Regions from separate parts of the Homo sapiens genome. Here region 2 is linked to region 1. Evidence: promoter capture Hi-C in human tissues and cell types (Jung and others, 2019). All regions are on one chromosome and are shown on one strand. The core of a region is centred on a gene start or on the middle of the fragment in contact, and the rest is flanking DNA. Distances in the headings are between cores, read along the strand shown.

The links. The method cuts DNA at HindIII sites, captures the fragments that hold promoters and counts their contacts. A contact is called where the count stands out against the background at its distance.
Region 2: the fragment with the promoter of TNNC1 here is called in contact with a fragment that was not itself captured in region 1 in 2 of the 25 tissues and cell types used here (small bowel and spleen).

Annotation. Positions count from the first base shown.
Region 1 is chr3:52,181,339-52,186,916 of GRCh38, forward strand. No RefSeq gene overlaps it. Among named protein-coding and RNA genes, the nearest start is that of ALAS1, 14 kb to the right of the region's middle. RefSeq lists an enhancer at 3,181-4,016. The HindIII fragment of the contact is 5,026 bases long and covers 1-4,759 here.
Region 2 is chr3:52,452,080-52,457,657 of GRCh38, forward strand. TNNC1 (troponin C1, slow skeletal and cardiac type) reads right to left here and starts at 1,962. Exons shown (of 6, transcript NM_003280.3): 1 at 1,913-1,962; 2 at 404-434; 3 at 27-173. The coding sequence starts at 1,936. NISCH (nischarin) reads left to right here and starts at 3,525. Exons shown (of 21, transcript NM_007184.4): 1 at 3,525-3,655. The coding sequence starts at 3,563. RefSeq lists enhancers at 4-824, 4,504-5,179 and a silencer at 3,450-3,679. The HindIII fragment of the contact is 8,260 bases long and covers 1-5,578 here.

The DNA.
Region 1 (5,578 bases), core at 997-3,496:
CCACTGCTCAAGGAAAGGAGAGGACACGAACAAATGGAAAAACTCTTTTTAATTTAATAACAGCTGCAAAGCACCTATTTCCAAATAAGGTCATATTCACAGGTACTGGATGTTAGGATTTGAATATATCTTTACAACAACCCTAGGGCGTAGGGTTGCTGTAAGGATTTAACCACAGGCCTAGAACATGGTAAACTCTCAATAAATGGTAGCTTTAAAAAGAAGGGCAGGCTAAGGGAGGCTGAGGGAGCTCAGGCTGGCAGACTTTCCCTGCATGTGTCCACATACTCACACACGCACAGGAGGCAAAGGACCACCCATGGAATCCACCCAGGAGGGCCAGGACAGGGGACTCAGGGGCCTCAGCCTGCACTCACCTGCTCAGCAGAGCTGAGCTCAGGGCATAACGTCAGCTTCCTGGGCAGAAGAGCTGCCAAAATCAAAGCTTTGCTAGTCAGAAAATTCCTTGGGAATGTTGAGCAAGGCCACCACTGACATCATGTGCAAATTCGCAGACAGCCTCTGCACCTAAGGCTACTCAGACCCACAGCCTTGGCTCGATGGGGTGGCAGACTCTGTATGCCACCAGCACACCCACCCACAGGGCAGAGGGGTCAGGACATAGAATCAGACAGGCCCCAGGGACCCCAGTGAAGATTATAGGCAGCCATTCCCCACTCAACAGAGGAGAAGGTCAGAGCCAAGTCTGACATTCCCCCATCCCCTCTCCATAACACCCATGCATCTGGCAGTCAGACAGGCCTAAGCTAAACCTTTCCCCCCCAGCTACCCACCAGGGTCATCCCCAAGCCAGGTCAGGGCCAATGGAGGTTGGGGTGGAGAAGACAGGCTTGGCCCTATTTCCTGCCCAACTCAGAACCTTCTGGTTTCTGCCACAGGATGCCTTGCAAGCTTATCGGGGTCACTGTGGGCAGCTGGGTGAGCTAAGTTCATCTGTGCTGCCGTGACCTCTGTGCAGATGCATCAAGAACACAGAGTGCTCCGGGGTTAGGATGAGGGCAGCGCTGATAAGGTTCATGGAACCAGTGACAGAGCACACAGCTGCCCACAGAGTCACTCCCCTGTGCCCCAGCCTGGACACCTCAGCTCCCTCTCAACCCCTTCCCGAGGTGCTAGATGTATATGGGACCAGAAAGCCCCCTCTGTGTCCTCCTGTGTGAGAGCCCAGCTGCTTAGGTGTTTGTGACTCTGGGCACCTGTGGGCCTGAGATTATGTGTATCTGAGAGATATTCAGGGCGTGCATCTATGAATGTGACCAACAGGCTGCCCTGCCAGGGCAGGCAGGGGTACAAGAGTAGGGGTGGAGGAATTGGGGGATGGGAACAGGTTGCCCCACCAACATCTGGGGCAGGACCATTATGGGCAGAAGGGAGCAAAGGCCTGAGGTGCTCTTGAGGATTTGCAGGGTGGGTTTAAGGGACAGAAAAGTGAGTTGTGAGTGAATGTCAAAGAGGTCGGTGGGCCTTGTGGACTCCTGTAAGAACTTGGCTTCTACCTTGAGTGACAGTGAGCCCTGGGGGTGCTTTGAGCAGAGAAGGAACTTCACGCAGCTTAGCTTTTAAAAGATCACTCTGGCTGCTCTGAGATAGATCAGTGGTTTTCCAAGTGTGGTCCAACAGCAGCACCTGAGAACTTGCAGAAATGCAGATTCTCAGGCGCCCTGCTAAATCAGGACACCAGGGGCAGGGCACAGAGATGGCGTCACAGGAGCCCTCCAGGGATGGCTTATACCCCTCCAGCAGCCTTGCTGCAGGGCTCCTGGAGAACTCCAACCCCACCAGACCCCACCAGATAGCTGCTATGAGCAGAATGAGTTCTGTGGTCAGCTGCATGTGGGAAATGAGGCTCCTGCACTCACACCCCCTAAGTTCTCTCAACACACAGCTTTTTTTTTGTTTTTTCTCTCTTTTTTGAGACTGAGTCTTGCTCTGTCACCCAGGCTGGAGTACAGTAGCGCCATCTTGGCTCACTGCAACCTCTGCCTCCCAGGTTCAAGCGATTCTCCTGCCTCAGCCTCCTGAGTAGCTGGGATTACAGGCGCCCGCCATCACATGCTCAGCTAATTTTTGTATTTTTAGTAGAGATGGGTTTCACCATGTTGGCCAGGCTGGTCTTGAACTCCTGACCTTAGGCGATCCACCCACCTCGGCCTCCCAAAGCGCTGGGATTACAGGCTTGAGCCACCAAGCCCAGCCTAAACACACTGCCTTTTAAAGCTTCTCCAAATCCCACGAAAAAGAAACCAGGTCACCTTTGCTCAGGCCAAGTGAATTATATAATACCCTTTCTTAACTTACTTGACTATGGAATATTTTTTCCAGAGACCACTTCATGAACATAGACCACACTGAAAAATGCTACTTCAGGTACATTTTGGTTTATTTCTCCAGGCTCCTACACTGCGCCTAACACAGAGTGACCACCCAACAACTGCCCTTTGAAAAATGCATGAAGCTCCCCCATGGTGACCCTGATGAAATTCAGGTGATTTATAAACCAACTGACCTTCCCCCAAGCTCTGGAAGGACTTGGCTTCAGCACCTCATACACTGACTCCCTGGGCTCCCCTGGGAGTCCAGGGGTCTGGAGGTTCCAAGCACAAGAAGGGGAAGAGGGAGGGGTTGCCGCCTTGGCTTTCACGGAACAATGACCTCTCTGGTGCTCAGGGTCCCCACCCTGCCTGAGCTCAGGGCCAAGTCACAAGGCAGCTTCCGTAGAAGACTTTTTTTTTTTTTTTTGCCCCGAGAACCCCCCACTCAGCCCAGATGATGTGTTGTTTGTAGAAAGCTTAAGTGGGTCCCAGGAGGTCAGTCCAGCCAGCACCTGCCTCCAGGCTGGGCAGCCACTCCTCTGGTCCTTGCACACAGCCGGGCATCAGGCCTGCCTCAGGGGCCCCTTTGAGGCCTCAAGAACAACTGAGCTCTCCTTTGTTCCCAAGGAAATCTCAGTGGAGGCCCTTTCATTAGTGAGAGGCACCTGGCCATGAAGTTCAAATAGACTCAGAAGCCCGAAGGTCCAGGAAATGCCAGAGGGGCCACAGAATCACAGCTTTCCTCATCACGGGTGCCAGAAGAGCCTTGAAACCACCAGGTCTATGCCTGTATTAACAGATGGAGAATATGTACAACTATTATACATCAATAACATTTTTTTTAAAAACAGGTGGAGAATCTGAGGTCCAGAAACAAGACATGACTGTTATGGTCACACAGCTTGGCTCTCATGCCCTTGGGATCTCCCTGGTCCACGCTCTGGTCAGTTTAATAGTTCTCAGGGGTGTACAGAGCCATCGGGACAGACCTGAGCAGGATGGCCACAGAGGAGGCAGGCAGAGGGAGGGCCAGTCAGGGGCTCTTGATAGTCCTGACTTCATCAGGAATGAGCGCAGGGGAAGGGATCACGATCCCAGGGAGCCAGGCTGCACTTGCGGTAGGGAGGTGGAGGTGAGGGGTGAAGCAGAGCAACCCTGCGGCCCTGCACAGCTCAGCCCGTGTGTGTGACCCTATGTATGATGACGTCCCAATCATGGCACACCATGGCTGCACATGTGTGCCTCTGTGACAAGGTCACAGCCCCCGAGGCACGCTGTGACTACACCATGTATCTAACTGTCACAAGGTGCTGCTATCCCTATGACCAGAGTGGTTGGCCATGTGGCCATGTGTGAAAGGGTGTTTGTGACCCTGGGCAGCTGTGGGCCTGGGATTCTGCATGTATTTGAGAGACCTTCAGGGTGTGCACGTAGGAATGTGACCAGCAGACCACGCTGCCAGACACTAGGCCCTAAGAACTTCCAAACTTGAAATGTCACTTCAGAGTGGCCAGCAGTCTTCTGTCTGCTAAGACACAGGCAGGCTGTGGAAAACTATTTTCTAGATGTTGTTACACAAATATAGAGTGAGAGCCCTTCTGCTGCACAGCTATGGTCATCTTCTGAGGTGGTGGTCAAGGAAGAGAGCGGGAGAGGGACCAGGAGGGGGAACGAGGGTCTGACTGCAGCCTCCACCCCAGCTGAGCTTCAAGGGGCTTCAGTTGACTCCTGACCACACCGTCCACAGACCAGGCTGAGATCAGAGGTGGCCTATCCCAGGGTGAGCTTAGGGAGAGCCATTGGAGAGGATGACATAGACACCCGGGAGGGCCCATGGGAGCTTGCGTATGCATGGGTGGCAGTGGAGTGGCAGAGTGTCGGGACATGGACACTTACAGATCTCCCCAAGGAAGGCTCCTGAAGATGCTCAACTGGGCCCCTAGTAAATGGCCTTGCTCCATTTCCCCTGGCCTTCTCCAGGCCATCTGCTGACCAGCCATCTGACCCTAGCTTTCCACACTCACCTCTTTGCTGACACAACCTGCCCACAAATGGCCCCATCTCTGGGCCCACAAACGGCCCTATCTCTGGGGCCTAAGGACCCACCCACACACACTCACTTGCACATAGTTCACAGATAATCCTCATTTATTTACCCACTCCATTCATTCATGCATTTATTCATATGTTCATTCATTCATTCAACAAATGCTCATTGGGTACCTCTTGTGAGCCACCAGCCCTGCTGAACTTCTCCAACTCCCCAGGTCAGAGAAATGAAGGCACAGTCCCAGTGGACCCCGGTGTGAGTAGCTCAGCAAAGAGGAACCTGGAGGCTGAGTGGGCTGATGGCCGTTAGCTAGGGGGAAGCACTGAGGGGTGTCACAACCAGGCCACTGCATCAAGCTGGATGGGCTTTGGAGATTGGGTAAACACTGTGGCTGCCTTCCCCCAACCCCAGGCTGGATCTGGCACCTAATGAGTCGGGGTTGAGTCCCAAGGCTTCAGAGCTGTCTTCTAATCCCAAAGCCTACAGAACAAGACCCATCCCTTGGATGGTTCTCAGGGCCCCCTCAGTTGGGCCCAGATTGCCTTAGCTGCCCCCATGCCCCCTTCCCACCAGCTACACCAGATAATGTAAGTTCCCTGAAGGCTTGGAGGACTATGGCCTTCCAGCTCCTCCGCATTGCCCCCTCCCAAGGGGGCCTGGAGCCCAGCTTCCAAGGCTCCCCATATCCCCCCAACTTCTCTGCCATGCCTCCTTGCTCACATTTCAGTCATGATAATAGTAATCATAATTAGATCTATCCAGCACCTCCTTGGCACTGGGCATGGATGGGTGATTATTTCCAACCCTCCCATATTCCAAAGCATAGTGGCCAGAGCTGGAGGTGACCAAGAGTGTTGCACTAGATCCCCCAGCCTGGGGCACTGGTCAGCTCCTGGCCTCCTCCACCCCAAATCATCGCCAGCTTGGCTCCTTCTCCTTCAGGACTCACCCTAAACATCCTCTCCTCAGAGAGGCCTCTCCAAGCCTCCAAACAGAGCAGCCACTGTCCTTGTCACTCAGAGCACCATGTGAGCTCTCACCCTCACAAGATTATGTGTCTGGATGGCGTGTCCTTCTGGACATCTGTCTCCCCCACCAAAGTGTCCACTCCGCGAGAATAGGGACTACATCTACCTTGTTCATAGCTGCCATCCCGGAACCTAGTTCAACACTAGGCAAACAGTAGGTACACAGT
Region 2 (5,578 bases), core at 712-3,211, 270 kb after region 1:
TGGAGCCTGGGGAGGAGGGGGCTCACCGTCCTCGTCCACCTCATCGATCATCTCCTGCAGCTCCTCAGGGGTGGGGTTCTGGCCCAGCATCCTCATCACCTTGCCCAGCTCCTTGGTGCTGATGCAGCCATCCTCAGCGCCCAGCACGAAGATGTCGAAGGCTGCCTTGAACTCTGTGTTCAGGGGTTGGGGGGCACAGTAGTCAGGGCTCAGCAGCCAGGACCACGGAGGGCCAGAACCCTGGGGCCACCTGCCAACCTGCCCACCTCCCTCGGAGACCTCTCTGAGGGCAGAGCAAGAGGGACCAAGCCTCTGGTCTCTGGCCTGGGGTCCTCTTCTGATAAGGGGTCCCCATGCCAGCCTGGACCCGCTGGTCTCCCACATGTGTGATAGGGATTCTCACCATTTTTCTGCTCTTCTGTCAGCTGCTCTACCTAGAAAGGAAAGGGAATCTCAAGGCTCAGACTCAGGTATAGCTGCTGCTGAGGAAACCAACCCATTCCACAGGTGAGAAGGCTGGAGCTGGAGGAGGCAGGCTATTTCCAGGCCACAGAGTGGAGGTCTCAGTCCTCCCTCCCTGCCCCCAAAGCCCTGACGTGACCCAGCTGGCCTCACTGCGACTGGGCTCAGGGCCAGGGTGACAGGTGGGCACCCCCTTCAGGACCAAGGTGACCCTCAGTAACAATAGTCAGTGACCACTCAATGCCCTTTCGGCCCCTGATGAAACTCAAGCTGGGTGGCCCGAAGGACAGCTGTCCCTCAAGTTGGGATAATAAAACCAGTGTGGAGGCAGGCAAGCCACCCACGGTAACCTGACCAGGGTGGCCACTGGGCTATTTTTAACGAGGAACAAAGTTAAACCTGGTGATTGTTCTGGGGACTTTGGCATGCAGGGGGTGGGGCAGCGTTATCTGGCCCCCTGGCCTGCTAGTGCCGCCTCAGAAGCCAAAATTAGTCCCCAACTCCGCCAGGCCTTGTATGGGCACTGGGTGGAGGGCTGTCCCAACCCCGGCTCCATGGACTCCCACAGGATAAGCAGGCGTGCCCCCAGAGCTGGCTATAGCACTTCCCTGCCCAGGAGTGAGGGAGGCTGAGGGAGGGGTTCCCCTGGGGACAGCTGGCCATGCCAGGATGTCCTTGCTCTGGGGTTGGGGGAGGTCACCACCACCCAGGATAGAATAGCATCTGAAGACCCTCAGTGACCCAGGAGGTTGCAGGGGCTTGGGGTGACCACTCTCCAGCCCTCATTCCCTCGCTCTCACCCCTAGCTAAGCCACTGAGCCCTGAGCCTGCCAGGCATGATGGGAGCTGGGGCCCCAGTTCTCTGTTCCTTCTTCCTTGGTTCTCCCTCATGTCCAGAACTTCCCTGCCTCAAACTTCAAAGCCCCATCTCCAGCCCAGGACTCAGGCTCTACAGACCCCTCCTCTCACACCCTCCACCCTCCAAAGCATCTTCGGCCCGCCAAGGGGCTGGAGTGGGGTGGCAGATTTTGAGCATGTGAGAAGCAGAATGTGAGGGGCAGAAATGGGGGTTGGGGACAGGGAGACAGTAATGGGGACTCAGACAGCTCAGGAGGAAGAGATGAAAAGAGAAAGGCAAAAACGTCCAGAGACAAATGCAGAGACATGTGGCTGAGCGACAGTGCCACAGACCACAGACACTTGGAAACAGAGAGTGAGACACGATGCTGAAAGCTGCAACCTCCTCCACCACCCTTCAGACCCGGAACCCCCTACCCCTTCTGCATCCTCAAACACCAGAATCACTGTCCCTGTGAGGGCCTGGGTTGAAGGCACGTAGGCCTTCTCCTTGGTCCCCACCACTTCCCTGGGGCTACTAACCCCGCACTCTCAGCTGAGTGAGCCCCCAGTGGGCCTGCCCACCCCAGCCCTACCCAGCCCTGTCCCTCACCGCAGCCTTGTAGATGTCATCCATGCTGGCGGCTCACAGGACAGCTTGCTGGGGTTGCCAGCCGGCCCTTGACTTAAATAGCCCTGCCCCGCTGCATTCCTGGCCCAGCCCAGCCCAGCCCAGCCCACCCCTGCGTGTAGTATCCTCCAGCCCCTCCTCTGGTCCCAGTGATCTCAGGCTGGCCTGAGTCCCCACGTCCTCTGCCCAGGGCAGGGAGCAGACGAACGGCTACAAGGACCAGGTTTCTTTCCCTCCTGTCCCCCACACTCCCCAAAGGGACTCTCTGAAAAGGTTTCTGGAATGAATGAAAACATAAGCCCAGTGCAGGACAGGAGCTACAAAGTCGTGGGCCCCAGGCAAGGTGCAACACAACAGCTCAGGCTCCCATCCAACCAGGTTGGCGGGTTGCCATGACCTCCACTTTCCAGATAAGGAAACTGAGGCTCTGGAGGAGTGGTGACTTGCCCAAGATCTGACTGACTTGGTAACCCCCGCCTTTAACTAAACCTCTCTGGAATGGGGGTGCAATGTGCAAGGAGAGGCTAGGAGTGCAGGGCCCTGCCAAGAGAAGCCTCGAATGCCAAGCTCATAGTAAGATGCTGTGGAACTGGTGAAGGAGGAAGTGACTGACCCACCTTAGGACAGGGTGGCCAGGAGCCCTTCTGCCAGAGGAGCCTGTCCCAGACCTCCCATCTGCCCAGGGAGAAGTACCCACTTCGGGCTTAAGTCAGCTGCTCTCAGTTATTCAACAGCACCCCTATAGATGCCCCATCTGTGGCAGGCTCTTTCCCTCCTCACCCTCCAATTAGGTTACCACCTCCCTCTTCTAGGTCTCATCTTTCCCCGGTTTAGGATTCAGCACTGTAGTTCCTGGGTCCAGATCAACCTGTCTCCCTCGTTTTGAACTTTGGCAGGCCACCCCGTGGGGTTCTTGTGCTCAGTGGCAGCACACACCCCTCCATCCACCTACACCTTCCTTCGTACAGAGTTCGTATCAAGTTTATCCCTCTTGATAAACACGCTCCCTGCCTCGAGCACTACTGCGTGCTGGGCCGCGCATCAATCAACCCACTCAGTTGTCCAGAAGCCCCACTGACAAGAGATCTCCGAATCTCAGAGAGGTTCAGAACTGGCCCAGAATCACTCTCGCCCTGCTCCGGCGGTAAGCACAGGTCCTATTTTCCCCTCCAACCTGCCTTGCCCTAAAGAGAAAGAGCCCAACAGCCAGGTGAGGCACTATTATGGCCTCCTTTATCAGGAGGAGTAAACTGAGGCCAGGAAGAGCAGTGACTTGCTTCGTGTGGCCTGGGAGACTCGGGACCTTCTGTCCCCTCTTCCCGAGGACCCAGGGGCGATGCCCAGAGCTGTCACCACCCGGGGTCTCAGTTTCTAGCAGGCTGTGCAGGGTACCGCCGGCGGCGCCACGCAGGTAGATTACGCAAGCGAGCACCTCGCACGCGCGCCCTGAGTGGCCCCTGTCAGTCACGCGCGGGGGCGGGGCGAGGGCGCAGGAAGAAGGCGGGGCCAAGATGGCGGCGCAGCGCGCGGCGGGGGCGACGGGCGGCGGGGGCCGGGGGGCGGTGGGACGTTGACCCCGCCCCCTGCTGCTGCTAGTCTGCGCCGGGCGGCGGTGGCGGCGGAGACCCGAACATGGCGACCGCGCGCACCTTCGGGCCCGAGCGGGAAGCCGAGCCGGCCAAGGAAGCGCGCGTCGTGGGCTCGGAGCTTGTGGACACTTATACGGTGTGTTGGGGGCGCGGGCACCCGAAGCGGGGGTGGTGGCTGGAACCGGGAGTCCGACTCGGGGGCTTGGGGAGGGGTCCGGGATCTGCAGCCCCGAGGAGCGGGTAGAAGGGTCTGCGATTGCGAGGAGGGGGCTGGGACGGGGGATCTAGGAAAGGGATCTGGGCCCCGCAGGTCCGGGAGAAGGGTTGCTCGGGGCCCGGGGAGGCGGTTTGGAAAAGGGTACGCGATCAGAAAGGGAGGCTCGGGTTGGGGGCGGCATCTGGGGATAAAGGGGGCTTGGGGAGGGGGGTGTCTAGATGAGGCGGAACCCCTCTAGATCCTCTAGGACTGGAGGGGCCCCGGCCTGGAAGACCGTTACAGGGGTCCAGGAGGAAGGCGATGGGGAGAGGGTCTCTGATGGATGGAATCAGGGAAAAGGGTCAGGCTTCGCAGGCCTTGAAGAAAGAGAAGGCGTCAGGACCCTGATCTGGGGAGCCTGAGGTGGTGGTTGAGATTTTCTCTGAGAAGTGCAGGAGAGACCTGGGGAGCAGATGCCTTGGGGGTCGGGCGGAGACAAGACCGGAGGAGGGGTGGAGCCCATCTATGGAGAAATGGGGGTGGTCTCAGTGCTAAAGCGCAGGCCCTATAAGCCTTAGGAATCTTCGTGACTTTGGGCTGTGGGAGCGAGATGGGGCAACAAGCTGCCCACACACACTTCTAAGCTATGGGGGAGACAGAGGACAAATAGCGGGTAGTTCCCGACTTTGACGGGGTTGGATGCCAGGCCTGTGAGCCTGGTGGGCTGCCTGGCAAAAACCGGCCCTGGACTAGGCATAGAGCACCTCCCTGCCTCCTCCCCTTTGTTCCCGCAGGGTAGGGAGTGGGTGGGGGCCTTGGGCCTGCCTGCACCTCCCCTCCCTGGCCCTCATCCTAACCTTCCGCTCTGAGGGCCATTCTTCTGGCTCTTTTCTCCTTTCCTGAAGGCAAGGGGAAGGAATCAGGCAGGATGGGAAGAGGAGAGGGGTGGATCTTGAAGCAACAGGCCAGCCTGGAGAAATGGCTGCTCCTCAGGGCTGGAGGAGGCTTCAGCTCCATGCTGCAGAGAGGAGGGGGAAACTAGGTGCAGGAGGCGGGTGAGGTCTCTAAGCTGATGGCTGACTGGCCATCAGCTATGGGCACATTCAGCCAGAGGGCCATCTTCAAAAAGCTCACCCTATTCTGGACTGCGCCCCTCCTCTGCATGTATGTCGGGGGAGGTGGTGATCTAGTTTGGACCCTACCATCCTCTGTCTCCGGGTGTGCCGAGTTGGACATTATTAACACACCTACCTTTTGAACACTTGCCATGGGTCAGGCCCATGTACAAAGCATTTTACATGCATTGCCTTACTTGGTCCTTGATTCTAAGATGGAGGAACTAAGGCTCAGAGAGAACTTAGGCTCCAAGTTACTTATATAAGTGACACATAAGCTGCAGCCAGGAAATGGCAGAACCAGGTTTTTAACCCAGGCCTTCCTTAACCTCTAGGCCATATTGCCTCCTGATAGAGCTTAGTTGCTACCACTCCCTCCCCACATCAGCTGCTTGTGCCTTGATTCCTGGCTCAGCAGCAGAAATCACAGCCATGAACCAGTTGAAAGGGTTGGAAAATGACTTGCTTCCAGGAGGTAGTCAGGGCACCTGGAAAGAAGTACAACAGAGAAGATGCTCAGGCTAGAACTGGCCCTGCTCTGCCTCCCTTGGAAGAAATGGCCTTGCCTGCAGCTCCGGTTGGGTTTTGAGTTACCTAGAGGCAGGAGGTAAAAAACTAAAGAGGTGACTTGTGGTAATCACCTTTTTCATTCCTTACTGATGGATGGAGCCACATGCTTGTCTCATGTGCCTCCCAGCCCTAGTGCTTGGGCCATGGAGGAAGCTGAGAGGGGCCCTGCTGGTCAGCA